2 separate regions of the Homo sapiens genome follow, and region 2 is linked to region 1. Evidence: promoter capture Hi-C in 16 types of primary human blood cells and fetal thymus (Javierre and others, 2016). All regions are on one chromosome and are shown on one strand. The core of a region is centred on a gene start or on the middle of the fragment in contact, and the rest is flanking DNA. Distances in the headings are between cores, read along the strand shown.

Region 1 (5,805 bases), core at 1,403-3,902:
CCTGCAAAAATTACAAGAGAGTTATACTTCAAAAGGACTGGCTGGCCAAATAAAAAAACATAGCAAGTATTTTTTTAAAAATCCCACAAAATTACTAAGGTTCTTAGGTTTACATTAGACCATCCATAATGAGAAACAGCAATTTCAGCACTATCATTGCATTCATAAAGATGGTGACATTACCTTCAGGTAGATGTGGCTAGGGAGTCTTGACTTAGGGGACAAAGTCAAGGTTTCATTACTTAAAAGACAAGAACCAATCACCTTTATTTTTATCTCAGGGTACAAAGTACTTTTTTCAATGGTAGAATGTCAAGTGCTTTGTAGTACTGAAATCAGAGGAAAGTGTCCGATTTTGCTTCTACAAAATGCACAATTTTACTTGTTGACTATTTTCTACTCCTCCCTTACCATGAGCACACAGGGCTTCATGTGATTATTTTAAAGAGGATGCATAATTCGATTGCTATGCCTCTTCAGATACCTTCTTTGTGAATTTTTCAAATTTGCTCTGGCCCAAATATTGGTGTTCCTATATAGTTCTTATCCCACCTAATGTACACAGACACCCTTTAATATGTACCTATAATCAACCACCCATGTTAACTTCTTGTTTAACATATTATCAAAGCCAGGCTGCAAGTATAACCCTGTCATTTAAGAAATACGGAAAATAAGAAAAAAATCTTAAAATAAGCTTCATGATGAACTTAAAAAGAATAGTTACTTTAAAAGATGTAGAAACAACATAGATAAATTTAAAGTTTTTAGGGGAAAAAATCCTTAAACCCACGTACTAAATTTTTAATATTTCCACTACAGAAGTTAAATGCCCAAACTGATTTGGTATCAAAATTAAAGTGTCAGAAATAGAATTAAGTTATAACTTTTATTTATCACCATTTTAACATATACTTAAAAGTGGAATTTATTGTTTTGCTGGAATACTTAATAACATTAATTTGAAATAAAGCTTCTAAATATTTCCGGGGCTATAATTCCATTCTTACAACATAATTTTTAAAATAATAAATCATTCCAAAAAAGGATGATCATAAAGAGATTAGCGTTTGGGGTAGTTAACCCAGTTCCTATTTATCTATCCATTCAAGAGGTAACTCAGTTTTAAGGATGTTGTTAGAAACATTATTTCACAGTGATTCAAACCTTTCAGCCTATGCACAACCTACAAATGCATAATCGTTTGAAATAAAAATTGCCTTTCCATCATTAAAGAAAAATCATCTTTGTTTTCTTTTTCAGTCCTTCTGAACTTATTACCCTGCTTGGATATGCTGCACTCTTCTGGACATAGAATTTCATAGCAGGTATCAAAATAACCAAGCCATAAAGCCAGCTTTATCAAACAATAATTTCCTATTAACAAGAACTTTGAGTGTATTACTCATTTTACACAAAACAAGTAGACGACAAATAATGATGGTTAAAATTAATAATTAAATGATTAAATGAAAACTAGTAAGGATTTCTGATTACTTTTCTACTTTCTCATACAGCTTAACACCTGGAAACAACTGTACTGGAGCCACCTTCCCGAAAGGTGCCAGCTGTTTCCTTTGTCTTAAGCACAAACAGAACTAATGTCACATTTCCAGAGAAGGGTAAGGATGAAATAAGGCGACTACAAACCAGCTTTCAGAAATGCGAAGTCAGTCAACGTTTTCCTCTCTGATAACCCCTTATTTGTGGAGCAACAGGAGAATTACAACACATTTTGGAAAATAATTTCTATTGGACCAACTCCTCACTTCGCTGGAAGTAGTCGGATCCAAGACTTAATTTCAACACAGTGTTCGACTTATTGCTTGAAGCTACCGCAGCATAAAACTCGTCTTCGAATGGAAAATTTGACCAACTTCTATGAGGTAAATGAATAGTGAAAGTACGGGTGGGCGGGAGAGACATACAAGTTTTTTCGGTTTTTTGTTTTTTGGGGGAAGAAAGGGCGCATACGAAAAAAGTCCTAAGCAAGCACAGAACTGTGTCTCTTAGGATGTAAAAGGATGTTATACCAGAGAGCTCAAAAGCTCCCAGGGTCACGGCTCCCCTAACCGAGGGACTTGGGGTTTCACTGCTACCAGGCACCCGGGGAACCCCGGCCTTGGATAAAAAGAGGGTAACTGGAGTAAAGCCGTGCTTCTGAACGACCCAGCGCCCAGGACCCCCTGCCAGACCCCGCCTTTCCCGGGACCCCCTCGGGAGCGCCCCCGACCGCCCCGCACGGGTCGGAGGAGGAGGCAGAGAGGTCCCGCGCGGACCCAGGCGCCTCCCGGGCCAGTCGAGGATCAACCACCCCGGGGACCCCTGCCGAGGCCAGCGCAGGATAAACTCCCCGACCCCGAACTCTGCCTGCCGCTTCTCGGCGCTGGGCCTCAGCCACGGGTTCGACCGTCCTCCTCACCGCGGCTCCCGCCTACCTCGCGCCTCCCGGCCCCGCGACCTCCCCGCCGCCGGCCGGGCCCCGCCGAGGCTGCGCTTCCCGTAAACTCCCCGCCCCGCGCATCCCCCTCCTCGCCTCGGCCCCGCCCCCGCGGGACCCTGGGCGGCGCGTGATTGGCCCGGCCGCGCCGTCACTCTCCGGCCGCGTCGCCTCCCTCGCTTTCCACCGCCCCAAGACCGGCAGTGAGATTAGTGCTCGCGGGGCCGCGGCGGAGTGTACCGTGCTGCTCTACTCGCTGCCATTCGCCCGCAGGTCGGCGCGCTCGCCCACCTGAGCCGCGCCGGGGCTGCGGGACCGTGGGACAGCGCGCTCAGCCCAGCCTAGGAAAGAGGCAGCAGTCTCAGCGCGGAGATGGGGAGCGGGCGAAGTTGACGAGTCTCCCGCCCACGCTGCGCCCCTCCTGCCCAGAGGTGCGCTGCCCCTCCCCGAGGTGCTCGCGCGCTGCCCTGACCCCTTCCTGCGCGGGACACCCCTCCCCTACCCACGGGACCTGATAACTTCACCCCAAGTCCAGAGAGTGGGCTGCGAGGGCGGTGCCCGGACTGGACAGGACTCTGCTTAAGGGGAGCGGTCCTGGAGGCTCGCCAGGAGTCGGAGGGCGGAGACCCGCTGGAAACTTTATCATCGCCGTAATTACTACGTTTTACTGTTTCTCTCCCCGCAGGGGCTGCAGCCAGCGGTCTGTCGCGCGTGCCTGTGTGCCCGAGGAGCCGCCCCGGGGAGAAGACCCGGCGCGGAGTTGTTCCCCCAGGGAGGATCCGCAGCCCAGCCGAGGGGGTCGGGCGGCCTGGCTACGCAGGACCCAGCCCCGCAGCCGCGGACTCCCAGCGGCGGCGAAGTTTGGCTGCTGAGCGGCGCGGCGCCGGACCACTGGACAGCGGGAGCGATGCCCGTGGGGGGCCTGTTGCCGCTCTTCAGCAGCCCCGCGGGCGGCGTCCTGGGCGGGGGGCTCGGCGGCGGCGGTGGCAGGAAGGGGTCGGGCCCCGCCGCCCTCCGCCTGACGGAGAAGTTCGTGCTGCTGCTGGTATTCAGCGCCTTCATCACGCTCTGCTTCGGGGCGATCTTCTTCCTGCCAGACTCCTCCAAGCTGCTCAGCGGGGTCCTGTTCCACTCCAGCCCCGCCTTGCAGCCGGCCGCCGACCACAAGCCCGGGCCCGGGGCGCGCGCCGAGGACGCGGCCGAGGGGCGAGCCCGGCGCCGCGAGGAGGGGGCACCCGGGGACCCGGAGGCCGCCCTGGAGGACAACTTGGCCAGGATCCGCGAAAACCACGAGCGGGCTCTCAGGGAAGCCAAGGAGACCCTGCAGAAGCTGCCCGAGGAGATCCAAAGAGACATCCTACTGGAGAAGAAGAAGGTGGCCCAGGACCAGCTGCGTGACAAGGCGCCGTTCAGAGGCCTGCCCCCGGTGGACTTCGTGCCCCCAATCGGGGTGGAGAGCCGGGAGCCCGCCGACGCCGCCATCCGCGAGAAAAGGGCAAAGATCAAAGAGGTGAGTGGGCCGCGCCAGAAATCCCTCCCGACCGGCCGTGTTTTTCAGGGAGAAACGGCAAGCCTTTGAAACTCTGAAGACTGCAACAATGCAATGTATGGGGAGATGGAGGTTTGCCCCTTCCACCAGGTGCTGTGTCAAAAGCTCTTTCTTTTCCTGTTTCCAATATAGTAGTAGATGTGTCCAGTAAGATCTAAGGTCAAATCTCGTTGCTTTTAATTTGCATGCTCTTGCTCTGGTGACCACAAGCCACACGAGGTGGGTATAAATACATGGGCAGGTAATACGCAAACCTCATTCTCTGGCCGCTACACGGTTAATCGCCCCACCAGTAACAGCGACGGCACTGATCAGCCCCCTGGTAAGGATTGGGGACGTGGCTTTAAAGTGAGTCTTCACGCGTGGTAAAGCTAGCCAGCATACCCCGGGTTCAGCTGTGTGGCCCTTGTCTGCCAGGTGGCATTCTGTGTGTACTTTCAGACTATAAAGGTGAAACCTGAGAACTTCCCATCATCGAGGGATACTATTGTTTACTTTTTTAAAAAATGAAAATATAAAAAGCCAGTCGGCTGCCTCTTGTATTTCTAATGCACAGCCAGAAATAGGGTATTCCATGTGATGCAACAGGTTTGCCTCCACAGCAGCACAATGGTGACAAAGTTAATCCAGGATAAACATGGACTTTGATACATCTTTCCTAATTTCCTTCTCGTAATTTTCAGTTAGAACTTGAAACATGTGATTAGGTCAGGACCAGCTTAAAGCTGAAGGGGGCCGTAAAAAGTCCTTTCAGGCTGTCATTTTCAAGATGAAGATCGAAGGGCCCAGAGCTCTAGAACCCGTTAGTGATGAGTCAGGACTTGAAGCCCGAGGTCCGAACTTCCCCCAGTCACCTGTCACCACGCGGTCTGTGGACATGCCTCCTCTCTGAGCTACTTCCCTGTGTGAAACGGTGCCAGCCTGCGTTTTACATAGAAAAGCTGTAGGAACCACATTAAAAGCATGTCATTCCAAATCTTGGTTCAATTTTCTAAAATATGAATGGAAGTAATATTTTTGCCATTTAAAAAATAATACGATCTGTGAAAATAAATATTGTATTTTCATATTGGGTAGGTAATCAGGAGAGGAAGTCCCTGATCCCATTTTCAGAGAGTAAACAGATTTTTGAGGTGGTTGAGAGGTGTTTAGCTTAAGTGGCTGCAGAATGAAGGCAGCAGGATTGTCATGGGATTTGTGACTTTGTATTATAAGATCAGCTGAATTTGGTTAAGCTGTAATTGAGCAAGTTAAAGTGGACTTGGATCCCTTTCGGTTTAGGAAGAATGTCTTCATCCTTCCTATGCAGATAGCTTCCTTCCACAGTCCATCAGCATATCTGCTTTTCTGAGACCCCTCCTCAGGGACAGAACCCTCCCATACTTGGGGGAATGGATTCTACTTTCCAGAACAACTGTCTAGCAGTTTCCTTTCTCCATGAAATCCTGCCTGTGCTACCAAATCAGGAAGGTGGAACAAAGCTCTACCTCTTACCAAATCCTCCCAGACTCCTTAATAATATCCAACCAAAACCATAGGAAATTAACCCAAATGATCTGTATCTGCCTGTGTTTCTGTTAAATTTGAACGGTGTAATTCATACATTTCATGCCTCCAAAGTCATACGAGCTGCCAGTTAGCTAGTACAAAAATCACAGTTGTCCGAGGAAAAGATTTTAATACGAAAGATACATAGATGTTAAGCTGTTGGTACTGACCAAGAGTGATTACAAGTGCATTCAGAGCAGAACCAGTGGGGCAGTAGCAGTCTCAGACTCAGGACAACATATTAACAGTGTGCATATCCATCCAGTAG
Region 2 (5,492 bases), core at 2,167-4,666, 3.1 Mb after region 1:
AAGAGTTGCAGGAATTCAGGTGAGGAAGATTAAGGAGCCATAGGCTACTTAGGAAAGATGCACTCAGGAGAAGGGAGAAAGAATTTACCAGTTACTTTATGTATGACTTTGGTAAAGTTAGTTAGCCTCTCAGTGTTACTGTTTCCTCTTTTATGAAATTTGACACTTTAATGCATGTAAAATGCCTAGCACATTTTAAAGCAAGACAGGTTTTTGGTAAGTCTTAGAGAATGTGTAACATCTACCCAGAAAGAGAATTCCCAGATAGCAGGATAACCTGTGTCATGTAAAAGAAACAGGTATCCTTTTTAAGCCTTTTTAGATACAAAAAGGTGAACAAAAAATCCACAAGTAATAGTCCTACTATAATAAGTACAATATTCTGTGTTGAATAGCAACCACAGCTTTGCCTGTATGGCAAAATAACTCCCTGAGCACGTGAGCCTTGGTGCATGTTGACATTCCTAGAGAGTTCCTCCTTCCAAGCAAAGATTCTTTCTTTAAAAAAAAATAGGACATAAAGTATGCATATTTGCTTTTCCCTCTAAAATCCTTGCCCTTTACTGACCCTTCTCCTGAGCACTTGTCCGAAAGCAATCATAACCTGAGCTTTCCATCACCTACAAGGAATAGTTATAATCACAATCACTTCTCTAATGTAATTTTCTTCTAATACACAGAGAACATGAGATACATTACTTCTAATTTTAAATCACGTTCTCTATATATTCAAATATTCCTTATCACAGCTTTATACATGTTCGACAAGAAGAGAAGGAAGAGTTCCTTTAAAGAGTCTCAACGTTATTTGGGGGAAATTACATTCAGCAGAGTCCTGATTATACTTACATGATCCTAATTAGAGTTTTCCTAGCATTACTGGTAAGAGTGTTAATTACATTAATTACATAATGGCTTCTTTGACAAATAAAGCCATATATTCTAAGATTGGTCCAAGCCTGACACTCCTTTCTGCTTAAAAAAAAATAGGAGACATATTGGAATAATAGAAGTTTCCACTTTAGGCCGAATGAAATTATACCAGTTCAAAATAGAAGATGATTTCATGGCAATTAGAAACAGTCTTTGTGGAAAGTTCCAATATTCCTTTTTATTTACACCAAAAGTAATTCCAGCCATGCATCACAGGCTCCATCACTTGTAGAGAGAAATGCATTATATATTTCTGTAGACAGAAACGAAGTAAAGCCTGAAATGATTACCTTGACTTTTTCAGAAAGGAGAGAATTGGAAATACAGTGCTGGTAGTCCGAGGCTTTGATATGTAAACTCACCTAAATATGCTGGTCTTTTCAGAGTTCGTTTGTCATACAGTGTGACCACACAAACTTAAATTATTTGTAAAATAAAATTGTTTTCTCTGTGTTTTTCCTATCCTTTTAGAGCCTTTGAAACATATATAGAAATTCATTCTCCTGAGTAGGAAACTGTTACTATATAGAATAGAGCAGCCCTCTGGTTTGCCAGTGGCAGATAGGAAGGAGAGCAGAGTGACAACCCATATGCCCCTTACTTCTCTTCCGCAAGGAGCAAGTTGCAAGCAAGAGAAACTGTTTTCTGCTCATTTGCTCCTTTATTTAACATTTTAATAATCTATGGGATACTGTGTAAGGTAGTGTGCTAGGCACTCGATAAACAGAGGGAAACGAAACCATGATCATGTCCTCTTGCAGTTTACAGTCTCCTCAGATATCGTTTGTGGTATGTTTAGGCTTTAATTTTGTCTTTCTGTGCATTTGCCTAAGTATATTTCTGGTCTTGATATTGAAAGACAGATTCAAGCTGTAATACATCACAGCTGTTGGGCAGGAACTCACGGGAAGCCATGAGCAAGGTAGAAGGGGCTGCTATTAGAAACAACTTGAGGCACCCATAGATGCAACCAAACCTTAATCCAAGGTGTATTCATTTCATATTGCTTCTGTAACAAATTACCACAAATTTAATAGCTTAAAATGCACAAATTTATTTTCTTATAGTGCTGGAGTTTAGAGGTAATAACCTCAAGGTGTTGTCATTCCTTTGGAGGCTCTAGGATTGAATCTATTTCCTTACCTTTCAAGCTTCTAGAGGCTGCCTTTATTCCTACGATCCTGGCTCCTTCCTCCATCTTCAAAGCCAGCAACATAGCGATTTCCCTTTCCTCCCTCCCACACCTATTCTCCACCATTCCTTCCCTCTCTCTGTGCTTTCGTCCTCTTATCTTCTCTGACTGACCCTCCTGCCTCCTTCTTATAAGAAATTTGTAATTCCATAGGGCCCACCTGTATAATCCAGAATCATCTTCTCATCTCCAAATCTTTAACTTAATCATATCTGCGAAGTCCCTTTGGCCGCATAACTAAGACAGGTACATCTTTGAGGGCCATCAGGCTACTACCACACAAAGCAAATTAAGTAGAAAATAACGTTTGCCTCTTTTATACCTTGAGTCCACCAGCTGCATGTTGCCCTTTGCAAGTTTGTTTTCTACTTCAAGGCCATCTTAGTTGTCCATTTTAACTAGCCTTTCCTCACAAAATGGTGGTATGTGGCTCCCCCCACTGATATTTCTCTGAGGCCTTGTAGCTCTCTAAGACAGCACCAGTTTAACTCACAAGTCAACAAACTGGAACACTTCAACCAGAGACATTGACATCCCCCTCTAATGAACTCAGCTGATTGCTAAAGACAGATGCTTCGTTAGAGCCAAACATTCCTATCTTACATAACTAAATATGATAATAAATTAAGTTCTTGGGGCTGGAAATAGTTATAATTTCCTCTTTCTTGCAGTGAAAAGGCATGGAACATTTAGCAAACTGATCCTGGCTTAATTTCTACCGATACTATGCAGCACAAACTCTTATTTGATGCAGATTATAAATCGAAAATTAGCAATGAATACTATGCATCGCTTTAGTGGTAAGAGGCTGCTGAGTAGCTTTTTTTCCCCAGTAACCGTAGAGGCAAGAATTGATATTTTTATGTCACTTTTACTAAGAAGGGGGGAAACATTTTGCTATTAATCTTAAAGAGAAGTCTTTTGCTGCTAGTTACGTGGAGTAACAGGGAATAGATTTACCTTCCTGCCTCAAAAAAGTGAAGACCAGAAAAACATTTGTTTTCAGACACTGGAGAGCAGGCACTGTTACGGCTGTGATTTTACAACTGCTCCTACATGCTGGGAGCAGTCGCTAGATGCATCTCAAGGTGGGTCGTCCGCGCTTCCAGACTCAGCACAATCGACATTTATTTACGTAGGTAAAATTACTGTTGCTATGGGTAAATTCACAGAAATAAAGCCCAGAGAATCCGGTTGGCTGGCAGGGAGCGGCGGAACCAATCCCGGGCTCAGCAAGTTCTCGCGATACCGTGAGATCTCCAGTCCTGACGACACCGCCGCTGAAATGTTAGTGAGACTGTAGGGTGGGCGGTGCGAGCGGCGGTTAGCTCCCAGTTCGGCCTCTGAGGAAAACGGGCGTTCGCCTGCGGTTGGTCCGACTGTTAGCAACATGAGCGGCCTGGATGGGGTCAAGAGGACCACTCCCCTCCAAACCCACAGCATCATTATTTCTGACCAAGTCCCGAGCGACCAGGACGCACACCAGTACCTGAGGCTCCGCGACCAAAGCGAGGCGACACAGGTGATGGCGGAGCCGGGTGAGGGAGGCTCGGAGACCGTCGCGCTCCCGCCTCCACCGCCTTCAGAGGAGGGGGGCGTACCCCAGGATGCCGCGGGCCGTGGCGGTACTCCCCAGATCCGAGTTGTTGGGGGTCGCGGTCATGTGGCGATCAAAGCCGGGCAGGAAGAGGGCCAGCCTCCCGCCGAAGGCCTGGCAGCCGCTTCTGTGGTGATGGCAGCCGACCGCAGCCTGAAAAAGGGCGTTCAGGGTGGAGAGAAGGCCCTAGAAATCTGTGGCGCCCAGAGATCCGCGTCTGAGCTGACGGCGGGGGCGGAGGCTGAGGCGGAGGAGGTGAAGACAGGAAAGTGCGCCACCGTCTCAGCAGCCGTGGCTGAGAGGGAGAGCGCTGAGGTGGTGAAGGAAGGCCTGGCGGAGAAGGAGGTAATGGAGGAGCAGATGGAGGTAGAGGAGCAGCCGCCAGAAGGTGAAGAAATAGAAGTGGCGGAGGAGGATAGATTGGAGGAGGAGGCGAGGGAGGAAGAAGGGCCCTGGCCTTTGCATGAGGCTCTCCGCATGGACCCTCTGGAGGCCATCCAGCTGGAACTGGACACTGTGAATGCTCAGGCCGACAGGGCCTTCCAACAGCTGGAGCACAAGTTTGGGCGGATGCGTCGACACTACCTGGAGCGGAGGAACTACATCATTCAGAATATCCCGGGCTTCTGGATGACTGCTTTTCGAAACCACCCCCAGTTGTCCGCCATGATTAGGGGCCAAGATGCAGAGATGTTAAGGTACATAACCAATTTAGAGGTGAAGGAACTCAGACACCCTAGAACCGGTTGCAAGTTCAAGTTCTTCTTTAGAAGAAACCCCTACTTCAGAAACAAGCTGATTGTCAAGGAATATGAGGTAAGATCCTCCGGCCGAGTGGTGTCTCTTTCTACTCCAATTATATGGCGCAGGGGGCATGAACCCCAGTCCTTCATTCGCAGAAACCAAGACCTCATCTGCAGCTTCTTCACTTGGTTTTCAGACCACAGCCTTCCAGAGTCCGACAAAATTGCTGAGATTATTAAAGAGGATCTGTGGCCAAATCCACTGCAATACTACCTGTTGCGTGAAGGAGTCCGTAGAGCCCGACGTCGCCCGCTAAGGGAGCCTGTAGAGATCCCCAGGCCCTTTGGGTTCCAGTCTGGTTAACATTTGCCCTTGGGAATACTCCTGCACAAGGTCTCCTACCACCTTCTGCTGGACCTGTGCTTGGGCATCAGCAATGAGTATGCCTTCTATTGTGCTTTGTTTTTGCTGACTTTTCTGCACCCTGTTTCCTTTGGATATTCAGTTCTCTCAACCTCAAGATTGAGACGGTGGTGGGTATGCTTCTCCACTTCCATATGACCTTCATGCTGTTCTGGAATATCACATGCTACGAGGTCATCCTTCACACTACTTGTAAGCCAAGCAAATGATACTGTAGATTGTACTGCCTTTATCTGCACTGCTTGGACCCTGTTTATTCCCAGGGCCTCTGAACTGGTTGCTGTCACTTGGATTTCTAGCTTTGGGAGCCTGTTCCACCTACTCAGCTCTGCATTGAGCAGTATGGGCACATGCCCTGTGGACAGTTACTGGACGTTAATGAACTCAGAGGAGAAAAGCAGTGAGCCACTTGTTCTGTGTGATTTATGGTACTTCATTGCTCTTCCTTCACCTCTAGTCACTTTCTATTGCTACCTGCCCTACATTGGCTCCTGCCAAGGTCCCTCTCTCTCCCTGTTTTCCTTTTTTTTTTTTTTTTTTTTTTTTTTGAGACGGAGGACGGAGTCTTGCTCTGTCGCCCAGGTTGGAGTGCAGTGGCGCGAT

Evidence for each region. Contacts are between HindIII fragments. The CHiCAGO score rates a contact against its expected background, and 5 or more counts as called.
Region 2: a contact is called between the fragment with the promoter of TSPYL1 here and the fragment with the promoter of MAN1A1 in region 1, in 1 of 17 cell types (activated CD4 T cells). The highest score is 9.9, in activated CD4 T cells.

What each region holds. Positions count from the first base shown.
Region 1 is chr6:119,346,608-119,352,412 of GRCh38, reverse strand. MAN1A1 (mannosidase alpha class 1A member 1) reads left to right here and starts at 2,652. Exons shown (of 13, transcript NM_005907.4): 1 at 2,652-2,871; 2 at 3,126-3,950. The coding sequence starts at 3,348. RefSeq lists silencers at 2,092-2,731, 3,242-3,441, 3,502-3,621 and an enhancer at 3,832-4,181. The HindIII fragment of the contact is 6,871 bases long and covers 976-5,805 here.
Region 2 is chr6:116,277,854-116,283,345 of GRCh38, reverse strand. It overlaps TSPYL1 (TSPY like 1), which reads left to right and starts at 3,416. Exons shown (of 1, transcript NM_003309.4): 1 at 3,416-5,492. The coding sequence starts at 3,516. The coding sequence ends at 4,829. It also overlaps a transcript of DSE not described here. RefSeq lists enhancers at 3,423-3,482, 3,713-3,982, 4,003-4,052. The HindIII fragment of the contact is 6,415 bases long and covers 2,087-5,492 here.